4 separate regions of the Homo sapiens genome follow, and regions 1, 2 and 4 are each linked to region 3. The links are contacts of gene promoters, found by promoter capture Hi-C in blood cells and fetal thymus (Javierre and others, 2016). All regions are on one chromosome and are shown on one strand. The core of a region is centred on a gene start or on the middle of the fragment in contact, and the rest is flanking DNA. Distances in the headings are between cores, read along the strand shown.

Evidence for each region. Contacts are between HindIII fragments. The CHiCAGO score rates a contact against its expected background, and 5 or more counts as called.
Region 1: a contact is called between a fragment that was not itself captured here and the fragment with the promoter of RNF144A in region 3, in 1 of 17 cell types (erythroblasts). The highest score is 10.0, in erythroblasts.
Region 2: a contact is called between a fragment that was not itself captured here and the fragment with the promoter of RNF144A in region 3, in 3 of 17 cell types (fetal thymus, activated CD4 T cells and erythroblasts). The highest score is 7.5, in fetal thymus.
Region 4: a contact is called between a fragment that was not itself captured here and the fragment with the promoter of RNF144A in region 3, in 2 of 17 cell types (fetal thymus and non-activated CD4 T cells). The highest score is 8.7, in fetal thymus.

The regions. Positions count from the first base shown.
Region 1 is chr2:8,918,518-8,921,217 of GRCh38, forward strand. All of the region lies in intron 3 of MBOAT2 (membrane bound glycerophospholipid O-acyltransferase 2), which reads right to left. Among named protein-coding and RNA genes, the nearest start is that of KIDINS220, 82 kb to the left of the region's middle. The HindIII fragment of the contact is 1,363 bases long and covers 663-2,025 here.
Region 2 is chr2:9,006,816-9,009,565 of GRCh38, forward strand. LOC124907728 (a long non-coding RNA gene) reads left to right here. Exons shown (of 2, transcript XR_007086199.1): 2 at 1-2,048. Among named protein-coding and RNA genes, the nearest start is that of MBOAT2, 4.5 kb to the left of the region's middle. The HindIII fragment of the contact is 1,319 bases long and covers 710-2,028 here.
Region 3 is chr2:6,915,893-6,918,661 of GRCh38, forward strand. RNF144A (ring finger protein 144A) reads left to right here and starts at 1,520. Exons shown (of 9, transcript NM_014746.6): 1 at 1,520-1,730. GRASLND (glycosaminoglycan regulatory associated long non-coding RNA) reads right to left here. Exons shown (of 5, transcript NR_033997.1): 1 at 2,510-2,769; 2 at 958-1,332; 3 at 1-75. RefSeq lists a silencer at 1,360-1,849. The HindIII fragment of the contact is 2,406 bases long and covers 879-2,769 here.
Region 4 is chr2:9,423,759-9,426,458 of GRCh38, forward strand. CPSF3 (cleavage and polyadenylation specific factor 3) reads left to right here. Exons shown (of 18, transcript NM_016207.4): 1 at 1-65. The coding sequence starts at 16. Among named protein-coding and RNA genes, the nearest start is that of CPSF3, 1.5 kb to the left of the region's middle. RefSeq lists enhancers at 1-42, 83-132. The HindIII fragment of the contact is 1,985 bases long and covers 424-2,408 here.

The DNA.
Region 1 (2,700 bases), core at 94-2,593, 2.0 Mb after region 3:
CTGGGTGCAGGGATGCCACAAACTTTCTGTTTGTTTAATAAAAAGAAAAAAGGCAGTATCTATGGTGCAATAAATAAATGGAGTGCAATAAAATAAAATGGAGTGCAATAGAACAGGTGTGCCCATATTTGTTTAACCTGAATTATAGTTCCTATCAGAAAGGCAGAAGGAACAGTGAATTAAGGAGCTGTTACTGCTCCAGGCCTAAAAGGCTTGCAAGCCTCGCTCAAATAGCCTTTTTATTAAACAGCTTTATTGAGGTATAATTCACACACCATGAAATTTACTTATTGTAAGTGTATAATTCAACAATTTTTAGTAAATGTGTAGAGTTGTGTGACCATCACTGCAAGACCGCTGCCCCAAGAGTTCCCTTGTGGTTACTTGCAGTAATCCCTAATTGTACCCTCAACCCTAGGCAACCACCGATCATTTTCTGTCTCTAGATCTGTCTTTTCTGGGAGTCTCATGTAAATAAAATAAAACAATATGTAGTCTTTTGTATCTGGCTTCTTCCACTTACCGTGCTCTTGAGGTTCCTCCATGTTGCAGCATATATCAGCAGTTTGTTCCTTTGTAAACTGCCGAATGGTATTCCATTGTATGGACATGCCACATTTCGTTTATCCTTTCACCAGCCGGTGAATATTTGGGCTGTTTGAAGCTTTTAGCTATTATGAATAGTGCTACTCTATGTGGACATACGTTTTCACCCTGGGTAGAAACCTAACAACAGAATTTTCAGGGCATATGGTAAGTTAATGTTTAACTTTCAACCAAAATGTTTTCCAAAGTGACTACAATTTTTATGTTCCTGTAAGCAACGTATGAAGATTCTAGTTTCTTCATATCCTCACTAATGCTGGGTATTGTCAGTCTTTTAAATTACATCCATTCTAGTGGATATATAGTTGTTATTATATAAAATAGTTTTAATTTTATTGTAGTTTTAATTTGCAATTCGCTAATGGCTAGTGATCTTGAGCATCTTTTAATTTGCATATTGGCCATGAAATGTGTAACTAGCAATTCTGTCCATCTTTAAATTGGGTTGTCTTCTTAGTATTGATTGTACGAGTTCTGTACATCTTCTGGATCCAAGTCCTGTATCAGACACATGTTTTGCAAGTATTTTTCTCCTGTGGCTTATCTCTTCATTTCCTTAAAGGTGTCTTTTGAATAGTAAAAGTTTTAAATTCTGAAATACGAGTATTCAATTTTTTTATTTTATTATGATTCATTTTTAATTTTTTGTTTTGAGACAGGTTCTCGCTGTTTCCCAGGCTGGAGCACAGTGGTACAATCATAACTCAATGTACCTTGGACTCCTGGGTTCAAGTGATCTCCCTGCCTTAGCCTCCCAAGCAGCTAGGACTACAGGTGTGCGCCACCACACTGGGGTACTTTTCTACTTATAAACAACTTTTTTTAAAAGATGGTGTCTCACTATGTTGCCCAGGCTGGTCTCAAACTCCTGGCCTCAAGCAATCCTCTTCCCTCGGCCTCCCAAAGTGCTGGGGTTACAGGCGTGTGCTATCACACTCAGACAATTTTTTTCTTTATGGGCAATTATTTGGTTGTCATATCTAAGAAGTCTTTGCCCAATCACAAGTCACAGAGAATTTCTCCTGTGTTGTCTTCTGAAGTTTTATAGGTTTAGCTGCTACATTGAGGACTAAGAGGCATTTTGAGTTGATTTTTATGTATGATGTGAGGTAAGGGTCAGGTTCATTTCTGTGCATATAGAAACCTGATTGTCCCAGCACTGTGTATTGAAAAAACTATCCTTTCCCAACTGCCTTGGCACTTTTGTCAAAAATCAACTGACCATAAAGGTTTATTTCTGAACTCTCAATTTTGTTGCAATGATTTATATGTCTATCCTTATGCCAATAGCACAGTGTCTTGATCACAGTAGCATGAGTTTTGAAACACAGGAGTGTAAATCTTCAAACTCTGTTATACTTTTTCAAAATTATCTTGGTTACTTAAGGTCCTTAGTATTTCCATATAACTTTTAGGAAAAGCTTATCAATTTCTACCAAAAAAAAAAACTGCCAGTGTTTCTGTTAGGAATTGCATTAAATCTATAGATGAATTTGTGAAGAAATGCCATCTTAACAATGTAAAGTCTTCCAACTCATAAATATAAAATACTTCTCCATTTAATCTTCTCTCAGGAATGTTTTACAGTTTTCAAGTGCAACTGCAATTCTTTTATTAGATTTATTTCTAAGTATTTTATTCTTTTTGATGCTGCTGTGAATGGAATTGTTTTTATACCTGCATTTCTGGATTCTCAATTTGTAGTATATAGAAATATAACTGATTTTGTACACTGGTCTTATAAACTGCAACCTTGCCAGCCTCATTTATTAGTCCTCAGTCTTTTTCTGTGGCTATTCCAACACTCATCTGGTTTCTGTTTGCATGGCTTACATCTTTTCCACTCTTTTACCTTCAGCCTACTCATGTCTTTAATGTGTTTTACTGGTAGACAACATATAGTTAGATTTTTTTTAATCCAGTCTGACAACTTCTGACTTTTCACTGGCATTTACTGTAAGTATTTATACGGTCAGATTTAACCTGCCATTTTGCTATTTGTTTTAGCTATGTCTCAGGCCTTTTTTGTTCCTCCTTTAGTGCCTTCTTTTGTATTAAACAAATATTTGGTAGTGAACTATTTTAATTCCTCTG
Region 2 (2,750 bases), core at 119-2,618, 2.1 Mb after region 3:
CAGGAGATGATGGATGTCCCTGTTCAGAGTGAATTCACCCTTCCTCCACCTTTTTGTTCTATTTGGGCCCTCAGCAGATGTGATGACGCCGGGGTACGTGGGTGAGAAAATCTTTACTCAATGTACCAATTCGAATGCTGATCTCTGCAGGAAACATGCTCAAATACACATTGAGAAATAATGTTTCAATAGCTCTATCTGGGCACCTTTTAGCCCAGTCAAGCTGACACATAATATTAATCCAAGAAATTTAGTATAATTCTGAAAATGGAAACCATTTGTTTCGTATTAAATATACTACCTCTTCATGTTTTTAATGAAGAATTGAAGCTGGCATTTTAAGCTGATAACTCATTGATGGTAGCATAAACTGTGTGCAGGCCATACAATTAGCCTGACCAGTATCTGCTAATTATACCAGAAGCTCTTCAGTGGAGACAAAAGAGAAAAGAATTAAACTAATTGTATATAATGCCTCACTGCCCTACCTTGGGTAACATCCATCCTATAAAGAGCAATTCTTGTGTTAAAACATTTATTGACCACTTACTATGTTCAAGGAGCTATGTGGGGTGACGTAAAGGATAAATGATGCCTGTAATCAAAAGAAGAAAACAGTCGTATTCACAAATTCACATGTTACAAGAAAAGTATCAAGGAAGTTTCTTTTTTTAATGTTAAAATCAAAGGAATATGTCTGTAAGAAAGAAGCTTAGCTTGAAGTTAAAAGACCTGAATTTTAACCCTAACTTTTCCACCAGATAGCTATGAACTTTAGAAATTGGCTTAGCTTCTCTGTGCCTTAAGTTTCCCATTGTTAAATATGAATAATGGTAACTGTTCATCCTACCTCATAGGAGTGTTGTGACTATGAGCATGAACTTAATCATAGACTCAATTATTTTTAAAGTTACTAGTACTGTTAGTCTGAGAAATAATAACTAGTAGTAAAGGGATTTCAATATAGCAGCCACATTGTTAACAAGAGTTACTTAGACAAAGGCACAGGAGCACCAGGCAGCATCCACGTGTGGTAAGATGGCAGTGCGGCAGTGCTCTTGTCCTGGGTTCATTGCCCTCGCCTCCTAAAATCGCTGTGATCATTAAAGATTGCTAAAATGAGATGTTTCCTTCCCAACTTATTTTTAACATTGAAGAAACCACTGGGAAGAAATGAATAATCTGCCAAGCTGCTTTTGTTTTGTAAAAATAGTATGTGCCATGAAATTCCATCTCTCAGGCAATTATTTTGCCTATTCTATGTTCCTATACCCTGGAATAATTTTGATGGATGAAGAACATTGAACCATACACATAATAACAACCCAAGTTAACTAGAGGGGCATCTTTAAGCACTTGCAAGCTAACCTTAGCCTGAGACTAGAAAATGGAACGAGAATGTCACCCTTTAAGACCTAACATAGTTCAATTAGGAAATCACAAAGTAGGCTGAACAAGAGGTAGCAAACACAGTAGGAGAAGTCCTGGCTCCACTGTATTCTGGCTCCACCACGGACGTGGACTGTACCAGCAAACAAATCACTCATCTTCAATTTCATTGGGAACATGTTAAGAGATTTGTTAAATAAATGATTTCAATTGTCACCTCTTCCTCTAAAATTAAATGATTCCCAAGAATTTTTGGGACTTTCTCTGTCTCTGTGAGACCACAGTCTAGGTTTAAATTAGGCTAAAAGATGCAAATGAAACTATTACTCATCAGTTTGGGAATAGCACTGCTTTCTAATTATTCCACAGGTTCCAGGACTACCTCAAATGTATTACGTCTCTAATCAGTCTTTCTCCTTAAAAATGCCTATTATTTCTTGGTGGACTGCAAAGATTTCTGTTTTATATCTGCGCATCTTGGGAAACATTTTATTTTCCTCATAGATTTATTTGGCATTTTTATCTTTATATGATTGAGTCAAATCTCAATACAAAGAACACCCCTTTCATGCTTATTTATTACAACATGAGCATGCAGCCTCCAACCCCTGATTCCTAGGTACAGAAAAATAAAGTTCAAGCTTTTTCATGCTTTTGCATATCTGCATAATAGTTTTTGTGTCCAAATTATGAAACACCTTAAATATAAATTGCTGTAGCCTCCCCAGGGTTCATCATAATCACCGTCACCACTAGCAGCATTTATTGCATCTGCTGGGGTCACTGCACTGGGGAAGAAGGCCTCATTTTCTCAGTTCGCCTAATATTCCAGGTTCTTTCTGTTTATCTATAATTGTAAGAAGAGTTGCCCTTCTGATACATGTTGACATATCACTGTTCTGCTAAACAGTGTAGTCTGGCTACTAGGGGAGGAGTTACACCCACCCTCTTCTGCTGCCAGCTCTGTGACAAAGAGAAAGCTGTAAGTTATTCTCCAGCCTGCTGAAGAGTTTTGTGTAGTCCCCAGCAGCCTATCACTTTCAGCAGAATTCCCTCTTTAGAAGTAAATGTGTCAAACTGCATATTTTGTTATGGGTATTTTATGCCTAAACCCTTCCTCCCTTATTGTCATTTTATAGATGCTGGGTTTTGGTCCACAGATTACAATACCAGTGTCCTAACTAATGTCAGAGTTCTAGCCAGTGAAAAATTAGAAATGAGAGTCATCTCTTCCCATCATGTCTGGGGTTACCACATCTAACCTGGTTCTCTTGCCAAAGAACTTGCTCTCCAGGATGGATGACTCTGGATAAACATGAGTTACCTGCTAAGGAATGGCCTTATAATCAGATGATAGTCTG
Region 3 (2,769 bases), core at 270-2,769:
ACACGGGAGGTGTGAATATATTTTTCATAAAGCCCAGGCCTTTATGCAGAACGATTTTCATCCTCTAGTGAGAGGCTGAAGTAACAAAGTGCTGTTGTTAAGATTCTTCCCATTGTGCATTTTTCTTGAATAATGACATTTCTAAAAAGAATCTGAAACTGAGGCATTAGAAGGCAAGTGCTCGTTCATATATTTGAAGAGGTCAAATATTTACCAGAATAACTTCTCAATACAGAGGGGACAGCTTTATTTTATTTTACTATAAAGATGTATGTGTAGCAGAAGACAAATTATGCAGAGCTTTGAGTTAGTTAAGAATCATCTGATTTAATTCTTTGGAGAAATGAGACAAATTGTAGCTAAGGACTATGGAGTTGTTTTAGTTTGCCAGTTATATTTAATTTGACTATTTCTTTATTTATTGAGAGACAAAGTCTCACTCTGCTGCCCAGGCTGGAGTGCAGTGATGCAAACACAGCTCACTTCAGCCTTGACCTCCTGGGCTCAAGCAGTCCTCCTGCCTTGGCCTCCCAAAGTGCTGGGCTTACAGGTGTAAGCCATGGCACTTGGCCTATTTGACTTGTTTAATCCCTCCGAAGAACTCATACATACTATTGCCACCTCATTTTCCACGTAAGAAAATGGAAGCACGAAGACCTTAATAACTTGCTTAATGGCTAGTAGGTGGTAGAGCTTGAATTTAGACCACACAGTGTGGAGGGTATGCTATTAAGGAAAAACGATGTTCTAGTGGGGTTTCCATTTAATATTGCAGAAAAAAGAATCTATATATTTAAGAAGGTGTTATTTCATGCACACTCGTAGGTTTTGTTCATATATGCACATCTGACGTATAATTTAACATTTGTGTAACTTCAAGCTTCTATGGGGAGTGGCAGAAGATGCAGGAATTCTATTAATACCTTCGCAGATCTTAGATTCCAACAAGCTGGATACCTTAAGAAAAATAAAGAAATTGCTGTGCTTGGATCCCAGATGTCCATTCCACCTTTTGGGACCTCCCGGGGGGCCCTCTTTTCTTCATCCTTCAAGACAAGGATAGTGGGGTGAACAGACAGACTTTCCTTGCGAGGGTTGGCTCAGGAAGGCTCTGGGCTCATCTCACAGCCGCCCCAGCGAGGGTCGGGGAGGCAGGTGCTGGCTCCGGTGGGGTCTGCGGCAGAGCAGGACTGGAGCCCAGGGCGCAGCTGCACAGCTCAACGCCGGTTCGCGCCCTGGTTTACAGCGTTGGGCTGGGTCACCCCTTCTTTCCTAGCTTGCTGCTGTGTGTTCCCTCGGTGTAGGAATCAGGGGAGTGTCTTCTGGAGGCCACTAAAGCAGGAATAGCATTTTCATGTTAGCGTGCACGGGCGGTCTCCGCAGCCCCTCCTCGTGCCGGAGCCTGTCCTGGGGCCTGCGGGGCGGCTCCGGGCCTCGGGCCGGCGCAGGCGGGCGGCAGGGGGCGCTGTGCGGCTCGGCGCGGGGGCGGGGCCGGGGCCGAGCCTCCCGCGTGCCCGGCCTCTGTGCGCGCTCGCGCCCCGCCCGCGCAGCCGCTTCTCCCCGCGCGGGCTCTCGGCAGGCGGGAGGCGGCAGGGCTGGCATTGCAGTGCGGGCCGTGCGGGCTGCGCGGGCGCGGGGAGGCGCGGGCGGCAAACTGCGGGCACCCGGCACCCCGCAGCCAGTACCGGGCGGAGGCGTCAGAGCCGCGCACCGCGGACGAGCAGGCCCAGGTAGAGTGACGCGCGTCCCCTTTGTGTCCGCATCGCCCGGGCCGGCCGCGGAGCGGGGAGGGCGGGACGCGGCGCTGCGCGGCCGGCCTTGGGGCTCGGGGCTTGCGGCCGCGCCTGCCCCGCTGGGTCCTGCCCCGGCGCCCGGTGGCAGCGGGCGGGGGGCAGCGTCCCGGGCGGGGACTCGCGGGCTCCGTTCAGAGGACGCCCGCCCTGCCCTGCCCGTGTCCCTGACCTCGTCCCTGCTCTGCTCCTGCCCTGCCCTGCCTCTCGCAGGCGGCGCCCGCGCCCCAGGGCAGTGGGCGCTTAGGGACCTGGCGTCCCCCTGCCTGCCCTGCGCGGTCGCGGGTCTGCGCTGCGGCGCGGGACAGGGCGCCCCGGGCCAGGGTCCCGCGGGCGAGCTGGCGGCGGGGGCTTTCAAGGTTCGCGGCCCCGCCCGCAGACCCTGGGGCTGGAGCCTCGGCCCCAAGAGGAGGTCTGGGAAAGGACGACGCGTCCGGGGCATCGCCACCGGCGGGGAAGGTCGGAACTGGCCAAGAGGATGCCCCGCACATCCCCTGCGCGCGGGGTCCGCGGCTGCTACTGCCCCTGGTCCCCACCGCGAGCCCTTTCCCGGGGAATGAGCCGCCGCCCGAGCCCCGGAGTTCCCTGCGGGTCTTACCCACCCCAGCCTCCGGCCGCCGACCCCAAGCCCCCTGCACTGTGCTTGGCTCCCAGCTGTTTGGTCGCTTATGCCATCCTGGAGGCTTCCTGGTCCTGGGGTGAAGGGGTGACTTCTTTACCCTAATGGTCTTCGTAGGCAGGTCTCAGGATGTCCACTCCAAAGTTCGTGGTCTTTTTTCTAGAGAATAATAATTTTTAAAATCCATTGAACTGGCCGGGCGCGGTGGCTCACGCCTGTAATCCCAGCACTTTGGGAGGCTGAGGCGGGCGGATCACGAGGTCAGGAGATCGAGACCACGGTGAAACCCCCTCTCTACTAAAAATACAAAAAATTAGCCGGGCGCAGTGGCGGGCGCCTGTAGTCCCAGCTACTCGGGAG
Region 4 (2,700 bases), core at 166-2,665, 2.5 Mb after region 3:
CCTCACACTTTCGGGATGTCTGCGATTCCTGCTGAGGAGAGCGACCAGCTGCTGATCCGACCCCTGTAAGGGACCAGCGAGAGAGGGAATGAAGCCACGGGCTGTGAGGGGCGCGAGGGGTAACCGGAGACTGGCCTCCTCCGTCGCCCGCGCTCCCACCTACCCCGGCAGCCTGCCTTTGGTCCGCGCTTGCGGGCCAGGCTTCTCAGGCTCGAGGGGTTGGAGGACCGTTGATCGGAAGGGGCCTGCTATAGAGTGAACGGGATTTTGCTTTTTCATCAGTTTCAGGGGAGGGTATGTTGGAGTCGGAAAAAAAAAAGTTTTACGGGGCCACCGCTCGCTTTCGTACACGCTAAGAAGCGTTTTCACTTAGCACAAGCACGGATCTCTGCGCGTCAGGGCAAGCTGTGAGGGAGCCGGTGAAGCTTATGACCGACAGGATGAGAGGAGGACCTGAATGAGGCTACAGCCGTGCAGGGAAGAATTAAGTCTGTTTCTTAACACCAGGGCTTCACATGTGCCAGAAGTTAGAAAATATTAGGGACTTGCCGTGAGTTTCGATCTTCTCAGCTCAGGCCCTAGTAGAATAAGGAAGGTGTAAAGCTGGAGAAGAGAAAGTGCAGAGGTGTTAGGGACAAAAACTCAGCCCTCGACTGTCCATAAGGAGAGTGGCCTTTCAGTGGACACGATCCTCATCAGTCGGGAATGCTGCTGAAGGGGAGATGCAAATGTAGAGAACTTGAATTCCTACAGATGAGCATTTCGAACCCACAACATGTTTATTGTTAGATACTAGTTGGCACAACATGAATATACGCTTTCCAAAAGGTAGAAAGTATCTCCTTTACACAATCATTCAGTAAGGCTTCATTGAGCACCTGCTTGGGACATAGTCCGTTTCCTTCTGCTTAGTTCACACCTGTCATGTCTTCCTGTGATGAGCAAACACTGAGCAAGTGTCAAGCACCACACATGGGGATATAGACGCAACAGAGGGCCCAGTTAATTGCTCTCGCTCTTTTGGAGAGAATTACAGTGCACAGTGGGAAATATTGGAGAGATACTTTGGAATAATAGGAGACTATTACTTTGAAGTCAGACCTGAAGTCCATTATCTACTTGACCAATTAGTAGGACAACAATCTCACTGAACCCGTTTTCTCATATGGAAATAAGATAAAACTTGAAGAGTGAACATCGCGGTAGGTGCTTTGTAAATAATAGCTAATCTAAGAACGCAGGCAGGCATTGCACTGAGCACTGTGAAAGTATGGAAAAGGGATTTCTGACAGATTGAGGAAAAAAGGATACCTCGTGGATCCTGAAAAATGTGATGCCTGAGCTGAGTCCTAAAGAATGAGTAGGAGTTAAAGACTGGGGGGCCCAGGATGTTCTAGGCAGTGGAAGTGGCACATATGAAAGTGAGAGTGGTCACAGCTTGTGGCCAGATTCCTCATGGCTGTAGCTAAAGAGTTGAGTTAGCAGATGAAGCGACAGGCAGTTGAGGTCCAGTTTAGGAAGCACCTCGTATACACAGGAGTTTGGACCTTTATCAAGTCAATTACAGGGAGCCAGCGAAGGCTATTAAGCAAGCATGGATATTGTGGGAATTATGTTTTAGGAAAATCTCTCCTGGCAGCAGTGTAGCAGATGAATAAAAGCATGGATGAATAAAAGCATGGATTGAGTAGAGCAGATTCAGTGAGATATTGAAAGATTCTAAGTCTAGCTGACGAGAGCCTGTAGTGAGTGATGTGAGTGTGAGAGAGTATGCAAATGAGATCTTCAGGATTTTGTGGCTGATCAGCTGTATCTGGAAGGGTGGTTGTGGGGAGGGAAGGCAGGGCAGAGAGGATGTTATGATCAGATTCCTAAGTTTGGCAGTTGGGAAAGGGTAGTGTTATTCACTCAAGGAGTATAAGAGATGGGGCAACTCTGGAGTAAATTTGGGAATTTGGTTGTTTCGTAACAGCTTTATTGAGATACAGTTTACATACCATACAACTCACAATTTACATACCATACAACTCATTTAAAGAGTATAATTCAGTCGTTCTTAACATAGAGTTATACAACCATCACCTCTCTCTAATTCCAGCACATTTTCATCACTCCCAAGAGATACCTTGTATTCATTAGCAGTCATAGACAATCCCCACTACCTCTCCAGCCCTAAGCAACCACTAATCTACTTCTTTATAGATTTGCCTGTTCTGGACATTTCATGTAAGTGTGATCATACAATACATACTCTTTTGTCTCTGGCATCTTTCATTTAGCATAATCTTTCCAAGGTTCAAAATTGAGGAGTTTTGTTCATTCAATAAGTATTTTTTGTGATGTGCTACATGCCAGGTACTGTAGCAATACAGCAGTGAATAAGATGGACAATGCCTCTGTTCTTAGGAAGCTTTCATTTAGTAGCCTGAAAGAAGACATAAGTAGGTACAATAACTTCATGTAGTTGTATTAAGATAACTGATGCTGGGTTGTGGCTTGCTGTGAAGGGCAAATTAGAGGAGGTAGTCAAGGGAAAGCATCTGAGAAGGTGACGTTGGAACTGAGACCCAAATGATACAAAGGAGCCAACCACATCAATATCTGAAGACAAAGCATTTCAGGAAGAAAGTAGAGCAAGTACGGGGCATGTGGTGGAAACTAGTTTGGCATCTTGAATATGAAGTCCCGGGAGAGATCCTA